Linked DNA regions of Homo sapiens: all the other regions are linked to region 1. Evidence: promoter capture Hi-C in 16 types of primary human blood cells and fetal thymus (Javierre and others, 2016). All regions are on one chromosome and are shown on one strand. The core of a region is centred on a gene start or on the middle of the fragment in contact, and the rest is flanking DNA. Distances in the headings are between cores, read along the strand shown.

Region 1 (2,700 bases), core at 113-2,612:
GCAGACACACATTATGCAAGGGTTGTCTGTGATAAATGGAATCTGGAGGACTTCACCTTCATTTTCACATTTTGCAACAGAACCTGAAATTCAGGGGGGAAAAATGTTTCATTTAAAGTTAGCTTAGCAGCATGATTTCAACATTTAAAATTTTTACACTAATCCTTTTTGAAACCTCTACCCAAACTTCAGAATTCTTAATGTGGTTTAAATTATTAAATTCACCAAAGCAAAACCTCTGCCCCCAACTCCATTTTCAATAATTTTATTTAAACAGGTTCAAAAAAGAAAAGACTATGATATAGGGATAAATTATCTGTTCTCAGATGGTCTAAGCACAATTCCAAGTATTTCACTGGATTTTTAATAACACTCCTCCTTTATGAAGATATTTCAACTAAGCACACAGCCCCATACGCAAAGAAAAAAATAAAAAATAAAATTTAAAAAAACCCTCAAATTGGGGCAGATTTTAAATTGACCAAAACTCAGAACTGAGTCAATAAACAGGCCTTTCTATGAATCTGTCTCGCATTGTCTTAGGTTTAAATCACTTTTTGAAACGCAATCCCCTTTTCCCTTCTCTTAGAAATTGACTCCATATTTTCTTTTCTGCACCAGGTGTCAGTAAAGTATGTCCTTCAGAATAGCAGCTGAGGTCTTCACCTGCCTGAAAACATATAATTATTATATCCGGCTATTAGTGCCCTTTTTAAATGATAGTTTCTTTAAATTCAAGGTCTTGAGAGCCAGTGCTTTAAAAAGCACTCCTAGCACAGTGGATGTATTGCAACCCCAAAGATGAGAAAGGAAGATGTGCGGAAAACTGCACAAATTTTTTTCCTGAGTTCTACAGAGGGAAAGATTAAAATAAAAGTTGAGGAAAGCATTAAAAATAAATAAAATAATTTCTCAAATTCAAATAGAAGAATGTCTATTATTACTACATTGAAGGCAACAGCCTCTCAGCCCGCAACCTCTTCACCAGCCTTCCCAGCCCTCCCGGGGCTTCGCTTCATCCCCATCGACCAGCGCAGGGCAAGCGCCAAGGTGCGCGCTCCCCACCCTCCCATCCCCGGGGCAAGCCAGCGCCACCTTTCCCAGGTACCAAACCGGCGTCCCGGAGGGCCGGTCCCTCCCGCCCCCTCCCCTACCTGTCAAGAAGGAGGAAGCCAGAGACATGGGGACCCCCGAGCAATTGAGTAGCAGCAAGACGCAGCACGTAATCCCAGGCGAGCGGCGGCAGTAACGCTCAGCCAGAGCCCCGACGCCGGAGAACCAGAGCATCGTCACCTGGAGGGAATCCCTGGCGACTGCAGGTCCCGCGCCGCCGCCTCTGCTCAGCTGCCGCAGCTCACAGTCGAAAAGGGCTCTCAGCCGGCGTGTCGGGAGACCGTCCGCGAAGGAGGGAGGCGGGCGCCCGAGAGCTGGGGGGCGGGGGGGTGTGAGGGAGGGCGGGGGGAGAGACCAAGGTGTGGGGGCGCCCGGGGAGGAGGGGTCCTGCGGCCAGGCTCCTCCGATGCGGCTTTTTTTTTTTTTTTCCTGAGGGAGTTGCTTGCAGTGGCTTAGCAGTCAGCCCCTCAGCGCCGGAGAGGGGGCCAGGAGGAAGGGGTGTTGCGGCAGCCGGAGATAGACTGAGAGGAGCTGCGGCGCTGCCGACTGCGCACTGCCGCTCAGCCGCCGCCCGGGCTGCCGCTACTGTTTCGGGGGCTGTCGCTGTCGCTGCCGCAGCGTCCTCCACTCCCGCACTCCTCACCTCCTGCCAGCCCCGCCGGCTCTCGGCCCTCCCGGAGCGCGCTCGCTCCGCCGCAACAGACGTGGGCTCACCGGGCGCCTCCCGGAACCCGCTGGGGGCGCCCGGGCGCAGGAGGGACTGCGCGATAGCTGCAGCGGGAACTCTCTCGGCCCAGCTTCCAGTTCCCCAGCCCCTCCAGGGAGGCCAGGGCCCCAGGGCGCGGACCAGAGCCGAGAAGGCGCGTCTCCACTGTCCGGGCGAGCGCGGCTCCTCCTCCCTTTCTTGGGGGAGCCCCGGGGATGCCGCAGCACTAGCGCTCAGGCCCGGGTGCCCCAATCCAGCGAGGGAGCAGCAAACGGGACGCAGGGGCGCCCCACCACCCTGCTCGCTCCCGGGTGCCCCACCTTTGGGAAGGAGCGACACACCCGGGGCAGTAGGGCCCCCGCAACTTTTCATGCCCTGCTTTGCTTCCCTCTGGCGGGGGCGCGACAGCGAACTCAGGGGGCTGAGCGGACAGAGGGGCAAGTGGCCTTAGAGATGTGTTCTGTGCTTAGCTGTCTGCGCGTCCTGACACTAGGGATGACCGAAGTTGAAACACACACAAGGTCGATTTAAAAACGTACCGAGGCAAACGCCTTTCGTCCTTAAAAAATGAACAGTCGCTCCGAGACTCCTCCCTTCCAATCTCGGGCGGACCGGGGCGGGGAGGTGGTGTTTGACTAATCATTCATTCACCCGAAAAGAGGGAGGAACCCCCGCCCCACCGCTCATCTCTGGCGGGGGCCGCCGCGCGGCGGCCTCTGCAGCTCGGAGCTCCGTCGCTCTCTCAGCCCGGCTGCGCCCTCTCGCCTCTGCAGCACTGGGTGTCGGGGAGTCAGCTCCTGTGATCCCCCTGCTGAATCGCCGCCTCCTCCCCACGCAGTGGCACCCTCTACTCAAAAGGGGTGCAATCGCAGAGAGATGAT
Region 2 (2,700 bases), core at 15-2,514, 640 kb after region 1:
AAAATAGATCTTATTAATATGAAAACGTAATATATATAAATTTCATTCATTTTATAAACATATAGTAGGGATCCAATACAAACATTAACAATGGAAAAACTACTACATAATCTATACTCATAAGGTGCTCCCACACTAGTTGTAGAGACTCATATACAGACAGCTAAGTATAACTCAGAGTATCCTGTGCTAATTAACAGAAGGTATGCACGTAGTACCAATAGTAACAAGTAATTGGGGGAGAAAAGATATGCTCTTGGTATAGGTTCAGGAAGAGAAAGCTAGGTTTTAAAGGATGAGTGAAAATTCTATCACGCTGGTAAAGAAGGAGAAGGCATTATGGCAAATCAAATAACAAATGCAAAGGCATGCAGCAGTAAAAGAGACATGAAAGGCCATGACAGGAGTTTAGGAGAGATGCATGACAGGGAGGAATGAGTCATGGGGCGCATGAAGTAAGAGGGAGAAGATCTCAGCCTTGTAAGACCATGCTACAAAATCCCACGGTCAGCTGCAGCCAATCTCTCTATACCATCTGAGATTGACCTTCAAAATCCCAAAGTCTCTAAAAGTGCAAAATAATTAGACCTCACATTCTGAACTCCAAATAGGATTGTTTTCCTATTCCCAATTCATAGCAACAGAAATAGTATGCGCTGGTGACTAGAACATCATCCCAAAGCTTGTCCTGCTATGGATCTAACCCTAGGCAATTAGTTACATAGGTGGTTCATTTCCTACAGAAACCAACCTGCCAAGGGATAATATAGATATTCATGAGATTGTTACAAAGGTCCAAAACTCTTTGAGCTGTTTGAAGCTTATATATATAACTATGGTCATTATTTTATCTAAGAAATAAGTGAGCCCCTAAAGCGGCCTTATTAACATTAAAACAGCAGGCAGAGGCACAGCCAAAATTGACTACTGATTTCCAAATCCAAACCATTTCTCTTCCTAAAAGACAACTCAGAAGAGTATTTTATTACTTAAACTTGACAGTAAAATTAGATGATGACAAACTTACAAGAGCATCTATTTTATGGTTCTTCCTTAATTCCTCTTAACTGTGACCAATAAAGTATGTAAAAATCTATTTCTAAAACCAAACAATTCCAAGCAGATTTGGAAATTCTGAAATAAAATATTTGGATCTTTTTTCTTACCACTCAAGTGTTCAGTAACATAAGCTACACAAAAAAGTTCCCTTGTCGAGATTGCTGAAAGAATAATCAGGGCCAATGTAACAAGATCTTATGAAAGAGTGCCATACATGTCTCTCAGAACAGAAAGGCACTAATCGCAACTACACCAAGTGCAGCTAAACGGTGGTGCTTTTTGACTCACTAACCACAAATGCTTCACAGGTCCTGTAGTGCACCAATAACAAACTCAACCACATAATTTAATACTCTTCCAAATTGCTTTGTAAAAACAGTAGCAGGTAACTAAAATATAGATTGAGGCATCACAGAGCACAAAAGTAAACCCTCCAAAATCATTTATTTTCAAAATAAACAGAACTGTCACCTCAGTGAGTGGCAGGAAGTTTTGGAACCTTGATATGTAACCCAGAGAACTTTACTAGAAATGGAAGCTCGAGACACAGAGCATTATTATGTTGATTTCAACTATAGCTAAAACATTCTTGACTATGCCGGGGAGAATCCTTTTCATTGAAAGATGCCAGTAACAAAACAGAAGCTTTCTTTATACACTTTTCACTCTTTTATCAGTTCTCATTGAACACCCACTTTCACCAAGGTACAGTGCTGGGCACTTCAGGGGATACAGAATTCCTGCCATCGAGGAGCACTGAGCTTAGTCAAGGAGAAAAACAAATGTTTACTATCAGTGAAAGCATAAGTAATACCTAAGGGAAGCACTGAAAAACTACTATGTAAATTGAGAAAAAGGAGATGTTGGTTACATCTAGGTCAGGGAAGAACTGAAGGGGAGCAGGGAGGCTTCTAGACATAATTTCCACGTGCAGAGAAAGAAGGAAAAGCACTTCAGACATAGGAGATAGACAGTATGTGGGAAAAAAAAAAAAGGAGAGAGAGAAAAACCCTTAACATATATGGAGACTACAAATATTTCCATTTGGTCAGAGCCAAAGATTGGAGAAGAATACTTCTTTTTAAAACAGTCAATTAAATTCAACAGAAACACTTTTAAATATTTATTTAAGGCTGATTATTTACTTAGTGATGTATTAGGAGCTATTGAGGGGTTGCTGGGGAAGGGGTATAGCAGACAGAAGGAGAGAAATAACACCCATGGCAGGTATACTCTTTTAGGGAGCCTCCCTACATTCAACTCTTAGAGGTCCCACCTCGAGGCCTCCTCAGCATCCTATGCAAAGCTCTGCTATAGCCTGTATGACAAATGGACTGAAGTAGCTGACTGACTTCCTGCCTCCTTGAATACTATTTGAGGATAAGAGGCACGTCTATTTGACTACATTTCCAGTACCTTGCACAGTGTATGGCACACAAGCCTGTTGAAAAATATTTGCTGAATGAATGACTGAATAAACAAACTGAATTATTCAGTCAGTGAAGAGATGTTTAACACAGATTCTTCTCTCAAGAACCTGATAATGCAAGATACTCTGGAAAATGTCAGTACAAGAAGGCAATACATGACATTAGCCAAAAATCAGTGTTTTAGGCAGTAATATATCTAGGAGGTGAAAAA
Region 3 (2,700 bases), core at 21-2,520, 800 kb after region 1:
ACTTTAAAAAGTTAAAAAGAATTTTGGAAAGAGCAGTATCACATAGAAAATTAATGAGACTGTATCATCGAGGAGAGCCATGTCCTAAAAGAAAAAAAAAAAAGCTATTCATCATGATGCAAGACTTCAAAATATGTTAATCATCATAAAAGTTGGGCAGTTCATGTGGACAATCGCCATGCAATTGCCCATAATCTATCCCTGCAATACACTTTTTCTATGTTGAATTTTCTTTTTAGTTTGCTTTCGTTTTTCTATTTTCTCTTTTAGCTTTTTCATTATTGTAAATTGTCAGCATTATGTTTTACAATTCACTATGCTATGTATTACATCTTAACATCATTTCTAATACTGGAGGCATCAACTATATAAAGACTTTTAGAGAGTTCAAATTTGTTTTATGCATTTTTTGCAAATATGACTCAATCAAAGCTCATTATTACAATGGTGACTGTGTAAGCATTCTACATATATGCAAAAATGTAGAAATTTCCTCGATAAATAAATAAGTGTCTTTTCTGTACATCTGCATTTGTGAAAGATGAAATTTCTCAGGATCTTGGCTCCTCGGGTGACTGGCACAGTGGTGACGTCATGGTGACCCATCCTGTCAAAAGAGTTAGGTTGTCTCTCATGGTATATCAGATGACCGCAGTTATAAAGCTGGGTGCACACTATTACCGAACATAATTATATGTTTATACATTTCACTTTTTGAACACTTTTTTTTTTTTTTTTCTGAGAGACAATCTCGCTTTTTCGCCCAGACTGGAGTGCAGGGGCACCATCTCGGCTCACTGCAACCTCTGCCTCCTGGGTTCAAGCAATTCTCCTGCCTCAGCCACCCAAGTAGCTGGGACTACTGGCGCCCGCCACCACGCCTGGCTAATTTGAACATTTTTTTATGAATACATTTCATCTGCTCATCCCTATGTGACTGTTGCTAGTATACCTGAGGTGGGTGTGGCCGGGCGGGAACCTCCAGGCTCCCAACTAGCGCCTCGCCCCGCTTCGGCTCCAGCTAGGCGGCGCTCCCCACCCACCCGCAGCAGCCCGCCTGGCGGCTGGGCCCGAGACCCGGAGCCCCTGACTTGGGGCCCGACGCGGGGAGGCGGGGATCGGGTGGCCGAGGCTGAGACTTCGGGGCCGCCGGGGTGAGTTGCGGGGCGGCGGCGGGAGGGGGCGCTGCGAAGCCCCGCGACCGCCGCGCGGAGGAAGTGCTCTCTTGGCTGCCGCCGCCGCCGCCGCCGCCGCCGGAGCCGCGCCGCGGGGGTTGCCCGAGCGGCGCTGCGGGGGCTGACATGTCGTCCCGGCCTGGGCGCGAGGACGTGGGGGCTGCGGGCGCGCGGCGGCCGCGTGAGCCGCCGGAGCAGGAGCTGCAGCGACGTCGGGAGCAGAAGCGGCGGCGACACGACGCGCAGCAGCTGCAGCAGCTCAAGCACCTGGAGTCCTTGTGAGTCCCGAGCTGCCGTCCGCGCGCGGCCAGTCTTCTGAAGCCAGGGGCCCGGGGCGCGGGACGCCGCGGTGGGCGCTAGGCCGGGTCCTCCGAGCCCCCGCGAGCAGGCAGGGGGGCTGGGCCCGGCAGGAGCCTGGTGCGGGCGACCGATGTCGGGCGCCGCGGTCAAGGACTTGAAGTCCATCCTCCTGGCGGGGCGTTCAGGGAGCCAACTGCCGCTCGGCACCAAGCAGAATCTGACTTGGGAGGCCCTGCGCTTCCCTAGCTCCAGGGGGTTCCAGGAGAGTCCAAATGACCCGGGAGAGTGTGGTGTAAAGAAGATTCAAATGTAGGGGAAGGAAATATGGTTTCCCTCTACCCTTCTAAGTTCTTAAGCTGGGCCACAAATTAAATTGTCATAAGACAGATTAACAGGAGAAAAACTTTTAATTATGTACCCGTGCACTAGAGGGCCACAAAAGTGGGAGACAAAGAAGGGCCAGGGAATAGGGGCGTGGGCCTTTTGGGGCGTGGTGGAGACCTTTTGGAAGGGTGATGGGGGAAATGTATGGTGAATAAAGGTTGCTTTGTTATCCCGATGAGGCGCTCAGGCGATAAAAGTTGCCCCCAAGCAGCTGTCTTCCTGATACAGATACATTTACTACAGAAAATTTCCTTTATAGGTGTAAATTTCTGTTTACAACAGGCGAGTCGAAAAATAATAAGAACAAAAGGAAAAAAAGCAGTCATACTTTATTTTAGGCAGTTGAGGGGTAGCTGAATAAGTTATCCTGTGTTGTTTGGTTCTGTTACTTATAGCTCAAAGTCATCAATATGCCAGGGTGGCATGTTTGGGGATGGTGCATTCTTGTCTTTTGCAGTCATTTATCAGGGTGGCGTTTCCTAAATTCTAACACAGACCTCGAGTGGAAAGTTCAGGCAGCAACTCTTTCAGTTCTTGTCCGTGATTCTATAATTAGCTGCATAAAACAACCTTTTCTAAGTGTGGCATTCACTCAGTTATTCAAGAATTCGTTTCTGTTTTAGCCACTTCTAGTTACCTGTGCTAAGTAGGTGTTAAGTATAGCCTAACGCTGCCTCCTTGAATATTTTAAGTTTAGCCTAAAAGTTTCTCTGTACTTAGTGAACTGTAACCTAAGTAGATGTGTAAACAGACTGTAACCTACTGTTATAAGTACCTGAGTCTCAGACAATCACAGCAGCTGATTTTCAGGCCGTCACAGGTGGTCAGCCTTTGAAACCCT
Region 4 (2,700 bases), core at 54-2,553, 700 kb after region 1:
CAATCACTGTGAAGAACAGTGAGGAAGTTCCACAAAAAATCAAAAATAGAGCTACCATATGACCCAGCAATCCCACTCCCAGTTACACACCCAAAAGAACGAAAATCAGTATATCAAAGAGATATCTGCACTCCTATGTTTCTTGCAGCACTGTTCACAATAGCCAAGATTTAGAAGCAACCTAAGCTTCCATCAACAGACAAATGGATAAAGAAAATGTGGTTACATATATACAATGGAATACTATTCAGCCATAAAAAGAATGAGATCCTGTCATTTGCAACAACATGAATGTAACTGAAGGTCATTATGTTAGGTGAAATAAGCCAGTCACAGAAAGACAAACTTCACATGTTCTCACTTATTTGTGGAGGCTAAAAATTAAAACAATTAAACTCACGGAGATAAAGAAAGATGATTACCAAAGTCTGAGAAGGGTAGTTGGGGGATGGGGAGGTAGAAATGGCTAAATGTACAAAAAAATAGAAAGAATAAATAAGATCTAATATTTGATAGCATAATAGGATGACTATAGTCAGTAATAATTTAATTGTACATTTTTAAATAACTAAAAGAGTCTAATTGGATCGTTTGTAATACAAAGGATAAATGCTTGAGGTGAGGATACTCCATTTACCCTGATGTGATTATGCATTGTATGCATATATCAAAATATCTCATGTACCCCATAAATATATATCCTACTATGTGCCCACAAAAATTAAAAATTAAAAAAAAAAACAGAATTTTCCTGAATTCAGAAAATAATAGTGGTCACCCACTTCCCCCTACCCTCCTAGAAAAAACATAAAACCACACTGAATCCATACTTTCTGCATTACTAGGAGAAAGAACATTTGCTGCCTTCACCATATGTAGAAGAAAAAAGAAACAAATTCCATGGCACTTCTACCATCAGCCCACTGCTACTACCACAAACTTCAGGGTATTGAAAGTGAGGAAAGAAAGGCTTATAAGATTCTGTGAAAAAGAACAGAAGAAAGCAAAGGACTTATGGAAGGCACAGACCCAACCACCCCAGAAGGAAAAGGTGAAACAATAAATGCAAAAATTCTCAACATGGGTTGGATCTACAAGTTCAAAGCTCTGGCTACAGAGAAGGAATTTGAAAGGGTGCAGCACTGGAAGTAGCAGCCTCTGGGAACACGAATACTTAGAGGAATTTGCTAGAAAAAGAAAACAGAGACAGAGGTTTGTTTATCATAGGGAAATGGTCAAAATCAATTCTGCAGCTACTTTAGATGTATTATAGACATGAGCAAATGAATATGTGGCTTGATGTTGAGAGCCAGATATTCACTTAGAAGAAACATATAAATACTGAATAGGGGATGGCAAAAAAGAATTATGTAGGAATGAACTGAAGTTGGATATAATGGTAGGAATGCATGACTTTTAAGTTATTTCTATGGGCTGGGCATGGTGGCTCACAACTGTAATCCCAGCACTTTGGGAGGCCAAGGCGGGTGGATCACCTGAGGTCAGGAGTTCAAGACCAGCCTGGCCAACATGGTGAAACCCCATCTCTACTAAAAATACAAAAAATAAGCCAGGCATGGTGGCGCACACCTATAATCCCAGCTACCCAGGAGGCTGAGGCAGGAGAATCGCTTGAACCCAGGAGGTAGAGGTTTCAGTGAGCAGAGATCACGCCATTGCACTCCAGCCTGGGTGACAGCACAAGACTCTATCTCAAAAAAAAAAAGTTATATCTATATGTAAGTGTACACATTTATGTGCACATGTGCATATATGTATATGTTTATGTACAGATATGTATATATGTATATACATGCACATATTTTCTAGCACTGTCCCTGAAAGGGGCTAAAAGTAAAGATACCATAGTAACAGGATCACACCTAGCATCTATATCTTGGTCTCTAATACTATATAGATGGCTGCAGCAGGATAGGTATCAGATTAGCCTGGAACATCTTACTATGCTAGAAAGTAAAGAAATGCTAACAAAAAAAAAAAAAAGAAGACATGTCACAAGGACACAGGAGCCAGCTTAAAGAGGCTCCCACTGGCCAAATCTGGGACAATTTAAGCATCAAAATTATTAGGTTCAGTATTGAATTAAAACTAACAGAAAAAAATTGAAATTCATGAATCCACATAATAAGCAGACAAATAAATAGGGGAGAAGAAAGATCTACTGCTTACAGTAGAAGATTGAGAACCAACTGACAAATGTGAAGGAAGTGCCAATTTGGAAATCATCATTTTGCAACTACCACAGTAAAGATTATTGCAGGCAAGAATTGCTAATGGGTTATCAATTCAAGGGGGAATGTTGATGAAAAGCAAAATATTTACATTTCCTTATTAGTTGCAAGGCATAAAACACCAGTAATTAGTAATTACACAGTGGAGAATTCAGGTAACAAGCTTAACCAGAAGATCAAAATTAATCATTAATGAGGATGCTTCTATGTGATAATATAGGAAGAATGCAATATCACCTATTCTTGACAGGATTTTGGACAACAATGTATAATCTTGATTTAATCACAGGGAAGTAAGAGACAAAATGAGAAAAAAAATTTAATGGTATGGGAGACTATATTCTTCAAAAATGTCAATGTCATAAAAGACAAAGAAAATTGGAGGAAATTTTCCAAATTAAAAGAGGCTAAAAGACATGATAATTTAATGCAATGCCTATCCCTAGCC
Region 5 (2,700 bases), core at 153-2,652, 730 kb after region 1:
TGCTTTCTTCCCCCTATTCCTTAATGGGCTCCACTCTGAACTCAGTAATTTTAGTTAAGAAACAGTAGCTAAATTAAGAACACCTATTGAACTAAAATATGCCTTTCTGGAATTTCATTGGCTATCTTGAAACCCTTCTGCAAAAGAAATTTACATCTATTAAGGAAATCACCATTTTTAAGGATGTCTGCCTGTGTATATTAGAAACTCTTCCCATTGTTTTAAATTGGCATAAGTCACACCTTTGATTAAGGTGCCTTTCTGGCCATGTTGTCTTAACTGAACTTTTATGGGAGCACCATTTTTTCCTTGGTTTGAGACAAATGATGATACAATATTTAGGCCTAAAATCTTAGCTATGTACATATGGAATATAATTTTTTGTTGTTGTACCTAAGAGTTATTTTAGAAATGCAAATTTGTTGCCTGGTTAACAATTGCTTAGGGCAATGAAACAAGTAACTGGAAGATTAATAGACCAAATAGGGAAAAGGAAAACTATTTAAAAGCTAGCAAATGAAAATCTTTCATGTCCATGTGTGTTATGTGTCTGTGATAATATTTGGTAAATAAAGCAAATTCTAAAATTGTTGCTAAAATAGGAATAGCTTCAAAATTATCAGTTAAATATAACAAGATATTTGCTTGATTGACTGTGAGCTGTTTTTGGTTTAGAGCCTCTGGATTTGGGGGTCTGCATAGGTGGACATGACGAGGTCTAGAGTCGTGTTCTTTTCATTTTTTTTTTTTATTATTTTTTTTTTGAGACAGAGTCTCGCTCTGTCACCCAGGCTGGAGTGCAGTGGCACGATCTTGGCTCACTGCAAGCTCCACCGCCTGGGTTAATGCCATTCTCCTGCCTCAGCCTCCCGAGTAGCTGGGACTACAGGCGCCCGCCACCATGTCCAGCTAATTTTTTGTATTTTTTAGTAGAGATGGGGTTTCACGGTGTTAGCCAGGATGATCTCAATCTCCTGACTTCATGATCGGCCCACCTCGGCCTCCCAAAGTGCTGGGATTACAGGTGTGAGCCACCACACCCGGCCTAGAGGCATGTTCTTAGTGCCTAGACCATCAGCTACAAGCCAGAACCAAGCCCAATATGCTCCCTTCTCCCCTGCTTTCCTGCTTGCCTACTGGCTATTTGGGGAGGGGTTGAATCCTCCAGATATAGTCTTCACAGCCCTGTCTTCTATCCTGACCATTGCACCTGGTATGTCAGGACTCAGAGAGGCCTTGACCTTCATAAGCCTCCTGGGTACCATGAGGCTACTTGGCACCCAGAATGACTAAGGGAAGACATTAAGGAGGGTACCTGTGTCATATTTTCAAAATTATTTTCAGTAATTTAAAATCTTCAGGTCATGTTATATTAAATTAAATAATAATCATAAAATGTCTGAGTCATTTATAAGTTAAAATATTGAAACATTAATTATTAAACATGAGTTTGTCTGTATACGTTGATGTTATTTTTATATGATACAGAAAAGCTACATATATTTAGGTCTGTTAAAAAACAATAATTTGAAGAAAAATCTTTCTAAAAACTTAAAAAAATAGTTTTTATCACAAATACTGATATAAAATTAGTTCGAAATTATTTTCTAGGGTTTTAATCAGAAATTAAGGTTACTAAGAGTTAAAATTTTAGTTGATATATGTAATTAAAGCTACTAGAGATGAAACAATTTTGTATACATAGTGTATAAACAAAAGCAAGATATGTTTCAGCTTTCTACATATGGCTAGCCAGTTTTCCCAGCACCATTTATTAAATAGGGAATCCTTTCCCCACTGCTTGTTTTTCTCAGGTTTGTCAAAGATCAGATAGTTGTAGATATGCGGCGTTATTTCTGAGGGCTCTGTTCTGTTCCATTGATCTATATCTCTGTTTTGGTACCAGTACCATGCTGTTTTGGTTACTGTAGCCTTGTAGTATAGTTTGAAGTCAGGTAGTGTGATGCCTCCAGCTTTGTTCTTCTGGCTTGGGATTGACTTGGCGATGCGGGCTCTTTTTTCATTCCATATGAACTTTAAAGTAGTTTTTTCCAGTTCTGTGAAGAAAGGCATTGGTAGCTTGATGGGGATGGCATTGAATCTGTAAATTACCTTGGGCAGTATGGCCATTTTCATGATATTGATTCTTCCTACCCATGAGCATGGAATGTTCTTCCATTTGTTTGTATCCTCTTTTATTTCCTTGAGCAGTGGTTTGTAGTTCTCCTTGAAGAGGTCCTTCACATCCCTTGTAAGTTGGATTCCTAGGTATTTTAATCTCTTTGAAGCAATTGTGAATGGCAGTTCACTCATGATTTGGCTCTCTGTTTGTCTGTTGTTGGTGTATAAGAATGCTTGTGATTTTTGTACATTGATTTTGTATCCTGAGACTTTGCTGAAGTTGCTTATCAGCTTAAGGAGATTTTGGGCTGAGACAATGGGGTTTTCTAGATATACAATCATGTCATCCGCAAACAGGGACAATTTGACTTCCTTTTTTCCTAATTGAATACCCTTTATTTCCTTCTCCTGCCTAATTGCCCTGGCCAGAACTTCCAACACTATGCTGAATAGGAGTGGTGAGAGAGGGCATCCCTGTCTTGTGCCAGTTTTCAAAGGGAATGCTTCCAGTTTTTGCCCATTCAGTATGATATTGGCTGTGGGTTTGTCATAGATAGCTCTTATTATTTTGAAATACAT
Region 6 (2,700 bases), core at 55-2,554, 760 kb after region 1:
ATGGCCAAGTCCACATGGTAACAAGCTAACCCACTGAAACAAAATGTATATGTACGACTATTAAAATACTTTGCAGGACTAGTATAGTAACCAGATCTCAGATAAGTCTGACTCTCACAGATTTCAAGCTACAATTAAATATGGGATTCCCCAGGAATTAATGAACATGCAGGCATTAAATGAAAAGCCATTAGTCAGTCTTATTTGCTCTCTACTCCAATTCTAGAAATAAACTTTCCCTCCAGGCCACAGGTTGGCATGTAATCTAAATTGTATTATTCAGATCCTCTCTCTCTCCCTCATTCTCACTATCTCTCTCAAGAGTCTGAATCTTGAGTTGAGAGAATTAGGAAAGTAAGTGCCATTTAAATGCATGGGGTGTTCAATTTCAATTGTACTATCAAGATTAACAAGGAATCCTTCTGTGTTTTACTCGGCTTCTTCTAAAGAATTTCAGGATCCCTGTAACTCTTCTCTCACTGTCTGATCACCTAAAAAAAAGTAGAGGTCAACTGACATTACTGTTTCAACCTCCCAACTTGACCTGCAAATTTCTCTACATCGGTATACATTCTTACCTTCTTTCCTCTGGCACTGTGGAAAAAAGCTTCCACATCTGTCCAAGGTTAATCCTTCCATCTGCACACCTGATCCCATCTCTGACTGTCCTCTCTGGGTCCCTGCTCCATCAATGAAAGCCTCTATTCTACACATTGAATTTTTCCCACTTCCCTTGACCCTCCATGGTCTCCAAATCATCATCCTCCCTTCTTCAATTCACAGCTAAGTTTCTTTAAAGAGCCATAAATAGTCTCCCCACCTCCCACTCACTCCCCATTCATACATTGCAAATCTAGATCTCATTACCATTGTGCCCACACATCCACTCTTGTCATGGACACTAATGAACCACTTGCTGCTAAAGAGCATGAAAACTTTTAGGCCAGGCTCAGTGGCTCACGCCAATAATCCCAGCACTTTGGGAGGCCAAGGCAGGAGGATCACTTGAGCCCAGGAAGTTCAAGACCAGCCTGGGCAACACAAGGAGACACTGTCTGTACAAAAAAAATAAAAATAAAAATTAGCCAGGCATGGTGGGGCACACCTGGGAGGTTGAGGCTGCAGTGAGCCATGATCATGCCACTGCACTCCATCCTGGGCAGCAGAGCAAGACCTGTCTCCATTAAAAAAAAAAAAAAAAAGGCCAGGTGCAGTGGCTCATGCCTGTAATCCCAGCACTTTGTGAGGCCGAGGCAGGTGGATCACCCAAGGTCAGGAGTTCGCGACCAGCCTGGCCAACATGGCAAAACCCTGTCTCTACTAAAAATACAAAAATTAGCTGGGTGTGGTGGCAGGCACCTGTAATCCCAGCTACTTGGGAGGCTAAGGCAGGAGAATTGCTTGAACCCGGGAGGTGGAGGTTGCAGTGAGCCAAGATCACACCACTGCACTGCTTCCCAGTTACCAGCCTAATTAGTTTTCCTGCCTCTCTGCCTGCTCTTTTCAGAATCTACTACTCTTCCCACACTTCCCCTGTTGATCCTCATATTCTCCAGGTTACAGTCCTATACCTCCTCCCCTCTTATTTCAACTTCTCTCCCTGTGCATTTTCACCTGTTCTCAGAGCTCCAAATATAAACACCATATTGTTCATCCCCAAATCTCTACCTCTATTCTGTAAACTAGACATTCCTATCTTAAACAGAGCATATCCAAAACTGCTCTTGTTAACTTTCCATTCTATAAGATCAACAAAAATAATTCTCAAACTTGAGAATGCCAGCATTCAATTTTGGAACTTATCAAAAATTAGGAAACCTAAGTCACATCACCCCACCTACCCCTGGAGAATACAATCTTATAGCATCTCATGTGTCTGGGATAGAAAATCTCCATATATAATAATCACCCCACAATATTATGACACAGGCTTTGGAACACAATGATGAGTGTTGTCTATGTGGAACACACATATGTAATGATTTTTGTATAGCAAGCTTCGGAAAACAGAGGAAGCTGCTCACAGCTCACCACAAACTGTGAGGGAAGCAGTATCTCAGCATATTCGTAACCTACTGGTAGCACCCCAGTAGTGAGCTCTAATAGAAATGAATGAGTGTACAGTATGTTATTCAGATAATCAGTAAGTATAGTTTCCAACCAAGCTGAACTTTAGATAGTTTAGGCAGAAGTGGGTTTGAAATTGTTCTCTCTGGCAGGTATTTCTGTGGCATGACTCTTACATGGCCAAATAACTGGGGCATCACATGCTTTAACAAATAGCGGGGGCAGAGGCAGGGTTGAGGAACCTTCCAATATCCTCTGAATAGAAGGCCTTCCCATCTCCTATCAGTGGAAAATCAGGGACCAAATTTTCCTTCAAAACAACTTAGTAGGTGCTCTGTGCAGTTTAGTACTCCCACTCTTCTGCTTTACCAATACAATTTTCTCCTTTCACATTTTCCTGCAGATCCCACTGTTTTAATTATAGGCAAGAAAAACAATTTTTAAAAAATGTAAGGGGATAATATTTATATGCAGTAAACAAAAGAATAGTTATAATAAGTTTTCTTTTTAAGAGGGTAATGACTAGATCACAAAAAAAAAGCCCATGACTATAAACCAAATACAAATTTCAAATAGCAATGATACAATAATACAGAATTAAACTGTTTGAAAGGTCACTTAAAAAACATGAAG
Region 7 (2,700 bases), core at 158-2,657, 710 kb after region 1:
CAAGTGAAAAATGGTTATGGTATCATTTACCAAATCTCCAACAACCAGTGGGTCATGTGACCACTGGGTCACAGCAGCCCAAATCCACATAATATGGATAGGATGTAAAAGGGATAGATCTAAAATGACTGTAAGAGACTACTTGCTATGGTCTGAACGTCATCCAAAATTCCTGTGTTGAAAATTAATTCCCATTGTAGTGGTATTAAGAGGTGTGGCCTTTTGGGAAGTGATTAAGTAATGAGAGCTTCACCCTCACGAATGGATTAGTGCCTTGTGAAAGAATGGAGGGAAGTAGCTTAGGCCCTTTGCTCTTCTGCTCCTCTGTTCTTCTGCCATGTGAGGACACCAAGGTGGTGCCATCTATGAGGAACAGGCCCTAGCTGCACACTGAACCTGCTGGCACCTTGATTTTGGACTTCCCAGCCTCCAGACCTGTGAGAAATAAATGTCTGTTCTTTATAAATTACCCAGTCTCAGGTGTTTTGGTATAGCAACACAAATGGACTAGGACACTACTACGTGTCAGGAAATCTCAGGTTTAATGTAACGAAAGTCATTTAAGAGCATTATTCCAAGTATATAGACTGAAAAAGTAACCTGAAAAGCAAGTTAGAAAGAATAAGCAGAAGCTTATGTGCAGTTCAAGAGGTCTTTCCCCAAATATAAAATGTGCACAGTTTTTATATTATTCTATATATTTTTGCCATCTTAAAGGAAAGACAAGTTTTGATTTCAAGTGCACGAATTGCAGGTGAAATGTATCATCACTAAATATTTAGGAATATCTTATAATATGCCACTTTTCCTATTTGCAGCTTGACCCAAATCACGCAGATTTTTTTCTGTCTTCTAGTAAATTCATATATTTTAATACAAAATAAACACCAATATTGAATAAATTACTCAACTGACTTCAAGATATATGCATATAAAGTAAAGGCTTTTCCATTTAACATTTATTGTCATAACTTGCTTGCATTCCATTATACAGCACCAGACTTGACATGATAAACATGCTTTTCACTGGTTGGGCCCTTTAGGTGGTAAGATGACTAAATTCCAGAAACTGTAAAATTACTCTAAAATTACTCTGGGTTAGCTCAAGTTGAAACATTCTGGATTATATTCTACTGTCCACATATATGTTTTCAGTGGTTGCGTTTGGGAGGTGGTGCTTAATCATTTACTTTTTTTTTTTTTACCGGTACATATGTTTTAAATATGCCTCTGTGAACAAGACTACTTTTATAACAAAAGTATATACATCCTCATGTGAAGAATACTGAAAGTGAGGAAAAGATAAAGTAAAAATCATAACTTACATTATTTCAAGTTTCAATCTCTTCTGTAAATAATTTGAGACATGCCCCCGAATTTAAATATCTATGCATACCAAGCCTAAAATCATGACAAATGATTTTGCAAAGCACTCAATTAAATTCAATTACAACAAATCCTCAAAATACACACAAACATTTCAAGCAATTATCCCCACACACTGTACCAGAATGAGGCTGCATTCAGCCCAGGACAGAGCATATCCTTTAACTGCTTAGGCCCTGCCTTCTCCAATTCATATACACACCTGAGGGCACACTCTCAAATCACCACTGCTGGCCTCTCCTGTCAGTTCTAAGGTAGTACCACAGGGAGGTCCTAGGAGAGAAAGTGAAACCAAAAGCAAGGTGGATATTTACAGTTTTTTGGCCACCCAGCACCTATTTCACTCTCTTTCATTAATGCTACAGAACCAGGTTAAAGGTGACCCCTTTATATATTGACCCCATGTTGTTTACTTCTTCATTCAGACTGACCATTAACTCAAAGCTCACGGATACCAAATTCAAATTTTTATATCAATTGCTTTAAACATAGCCCAAATAAGGATATTTTCAGCCTGTTTTGCATACCCTGAAAAACTGCACCCAACATCCACTAGCTACAGGTAAAACAAACCCTGAGCATGTAAAAGACTGTATGTTGCTGCTGCCCTCCCCAGTCCTGCTTCTCAGCAACCTGGACACCTAAGCCCCACTCTAGGTCCTCTCTCCCCAGAAAGCTCCCCTGACCTCTGCCCCTTCTGGGTTGAGGCCACCTCACTCTCTCTGGAAGGTCTCTTGCTGTAAGGGACCTCCTCTTGAATGCAATCCTGCCAAAGCACCACGCAAATAAAGCTTATTGTGTTCTACTGCCATCTGATAGCCATGTCTTTTTTCTTGATCACCTCCAAAGTCCTCAGATTCACCACAGTTAATTATTCACTGATATTCCTCTGGAAATCCACCCCTCTTCCCTCTCCACTCTTACCCTTAGTGGTAAGAGGACTTCCCACACCTGTGGCTCAGGCTCAAGTTAATCACATTCCTTTGGTGGCAATGATTGGTTCAGAGATGGCCCAACCAGAGCCTGTGAGTTGGAAACAGACTTTTGTTGAGCCTTCTACGAGAAAGGAAGAACCTCTTTTACATGGACTAGAATGTGACAAGTAAAGATTTAAAGCTGCTATAGCCATCATGTAACCAGAAGGAAATAGCCTATCCCAGGAAATGGAAGCAAGAGATGAAAAGAGAGAAACCAGATCTGATCACAGAGAAGGCTCAAGTGACGTTAGCCAGTCAACTTCCTATTCTTGCTTAAGCCAACTGTTAGTTGCAACCAAGGGAGTCTTCAGTTTTACCAAAGACAAGGTTGGAAAGA

Evidence for each region. The method cuts DNA at HindIII sites, captures the fragments that hold promoters and counts their contacts. A CHiCAGO score of 5 or more calls a contact.
Region 2: a fragment that was not itself captured here is called in contact with the fragment with the promoter of BMPER in region 1 in 5 of 17 cell types (endothelial precursors, M1 macrophages, megakaryocytes and 2 more); the score reaches 8.1 in endothelial precursors.
Region 3: a contact is called between the fragment with the promoter of RP9 here and the fragment with the promoter of BMPER in region 1, in 5 of 17 cell types (naive B cells, M2 macrophages, total B cells and 2 more). The highest score is 7.1, in naive B cells.
Region 4: a fragment that was not itself captured here is called in contact with the fragment with the promoter of BMPER in region 1 in 7 of 17 cell types (naive B cells, M1 macrophages, total CD4 T cells and 4 more); the score reaches 7.5 in naive B cells.
Region 5: a contact is called between a fragment that was not itself captured here and the fragment with the promoter of BMPER in region 1, in 1 of 17 cell types (total CD4 T cells). The highest score is 5.2, in total CD4 T cells.
Region 6: a fragment that was not itself captured here is called in contact with the fragment with the promoter of BMPER in region 1 in 1 of 17 cell types (M0 macrophages); the score reaches 5.2 in M0 macrophages.
Region 7: a fragment that was not itself captured here is called in contact with the fragment with the promoter of BMPER in region 1 in 15 of 17 cell types (naive B cells, naive CD8 T cells, naive CD4 T cells and 12 more); the score reaches 13.7 in naive B cells.

The regions. Positions count from the first base shown.
Region 1 is chr7:33,904,201-33,906,900 of GRCh38, reverse strand. BMPER (BMP binding endothelial regulator) reads right to left here and starts at 1,362. Exons shown (of 15, transcript NM_001365308.1): 1 at 1,155-1,362; 2 at 1-83. The coding sequence starts at 1,287. The HindIII fragment of the contact is 6,002 bases long and covers 1-2,700 here.
Region 2 is chr7:33,260,420-33,263,119 of GRCh38, reverse strand. The region is part of intron 6 of BBS9 (Bardet-Biedl syndrome 9); the gene reads right to left. Among named protein-coding and RNA genes, the nearest start is that of BBS9, 130 kb to the right of the region's middle. The HindIII fragment of the contact is 884 bases long and covers 823-1,706 here.
Region 3 is chr7:33,107,974-33,110,673 of GRCh38, reverse strand. RP9 (RP9 pre-mRNA splicing factor) reads left to right here and starts at 1,270. Exons shown (of 6, transcript NM_203288.2): 1 at 1,270-1,453. The coding sequence starts at 1,302. RefSeq lists silencers at 895-1,374, 1,385-1,614. The HindIII fragment of the contact is 9,627 bases long and covers 1-2,700 here.
Region 4 is chr7:33,206,841-33,209,540 of GRCh38, reverse strand. All of the region lies in intron 5 of BBS9 (Bardet-Biedl syndrome 9), which reads right to left. Among named protein-coding and RNA genes, the nearest start is that of BBS9, 79 kb to the right of the region's middle. The HindIII fragment of the contact is 2,229 bases long and covers 189-2,417 here.
Region 5 is chr7:33,170,445-33,173,144 of GRCh38, reverse strand. The region is part of intron 4 of BBS9 (Bardet-Biedl syndrome 9); the gene reads right to left. Among named protein-coding and RNA genes, the nearest start is that of BBS9, 42 kb to the right of the region's middle. The HindIII fragment of the contact is 3,003 bases long and covers 1-2,700 here.
Region 6 is chr7:33,147,165-33,149,864 of GRCh38, reverse strand. The region is part of intron 2 of BBS9 (Bardet-Biedl syndrome 9); the gene reads right to left. Among named protein-coding and RNA genes, the nearest start is that of BBS9, 19 kb to the right of the region's middle. The HindIII fragment of the contact is 1,390 bases long and covers 610-1,999 here.
Region 7 is chr7:33,190,452-33,193,151 of GRCh38, reverse strand. All of the region lies in intron 5 of BBS9 (Bardet-Biedl syndrome 9), which reads right to left. Among named protein-coding and RNA genes, the nearest start is that of BBS9, 62 kb to the right of the region's middle. The HindIII fragment of the contact is 1,545 bases long and covers 635-2,179 here.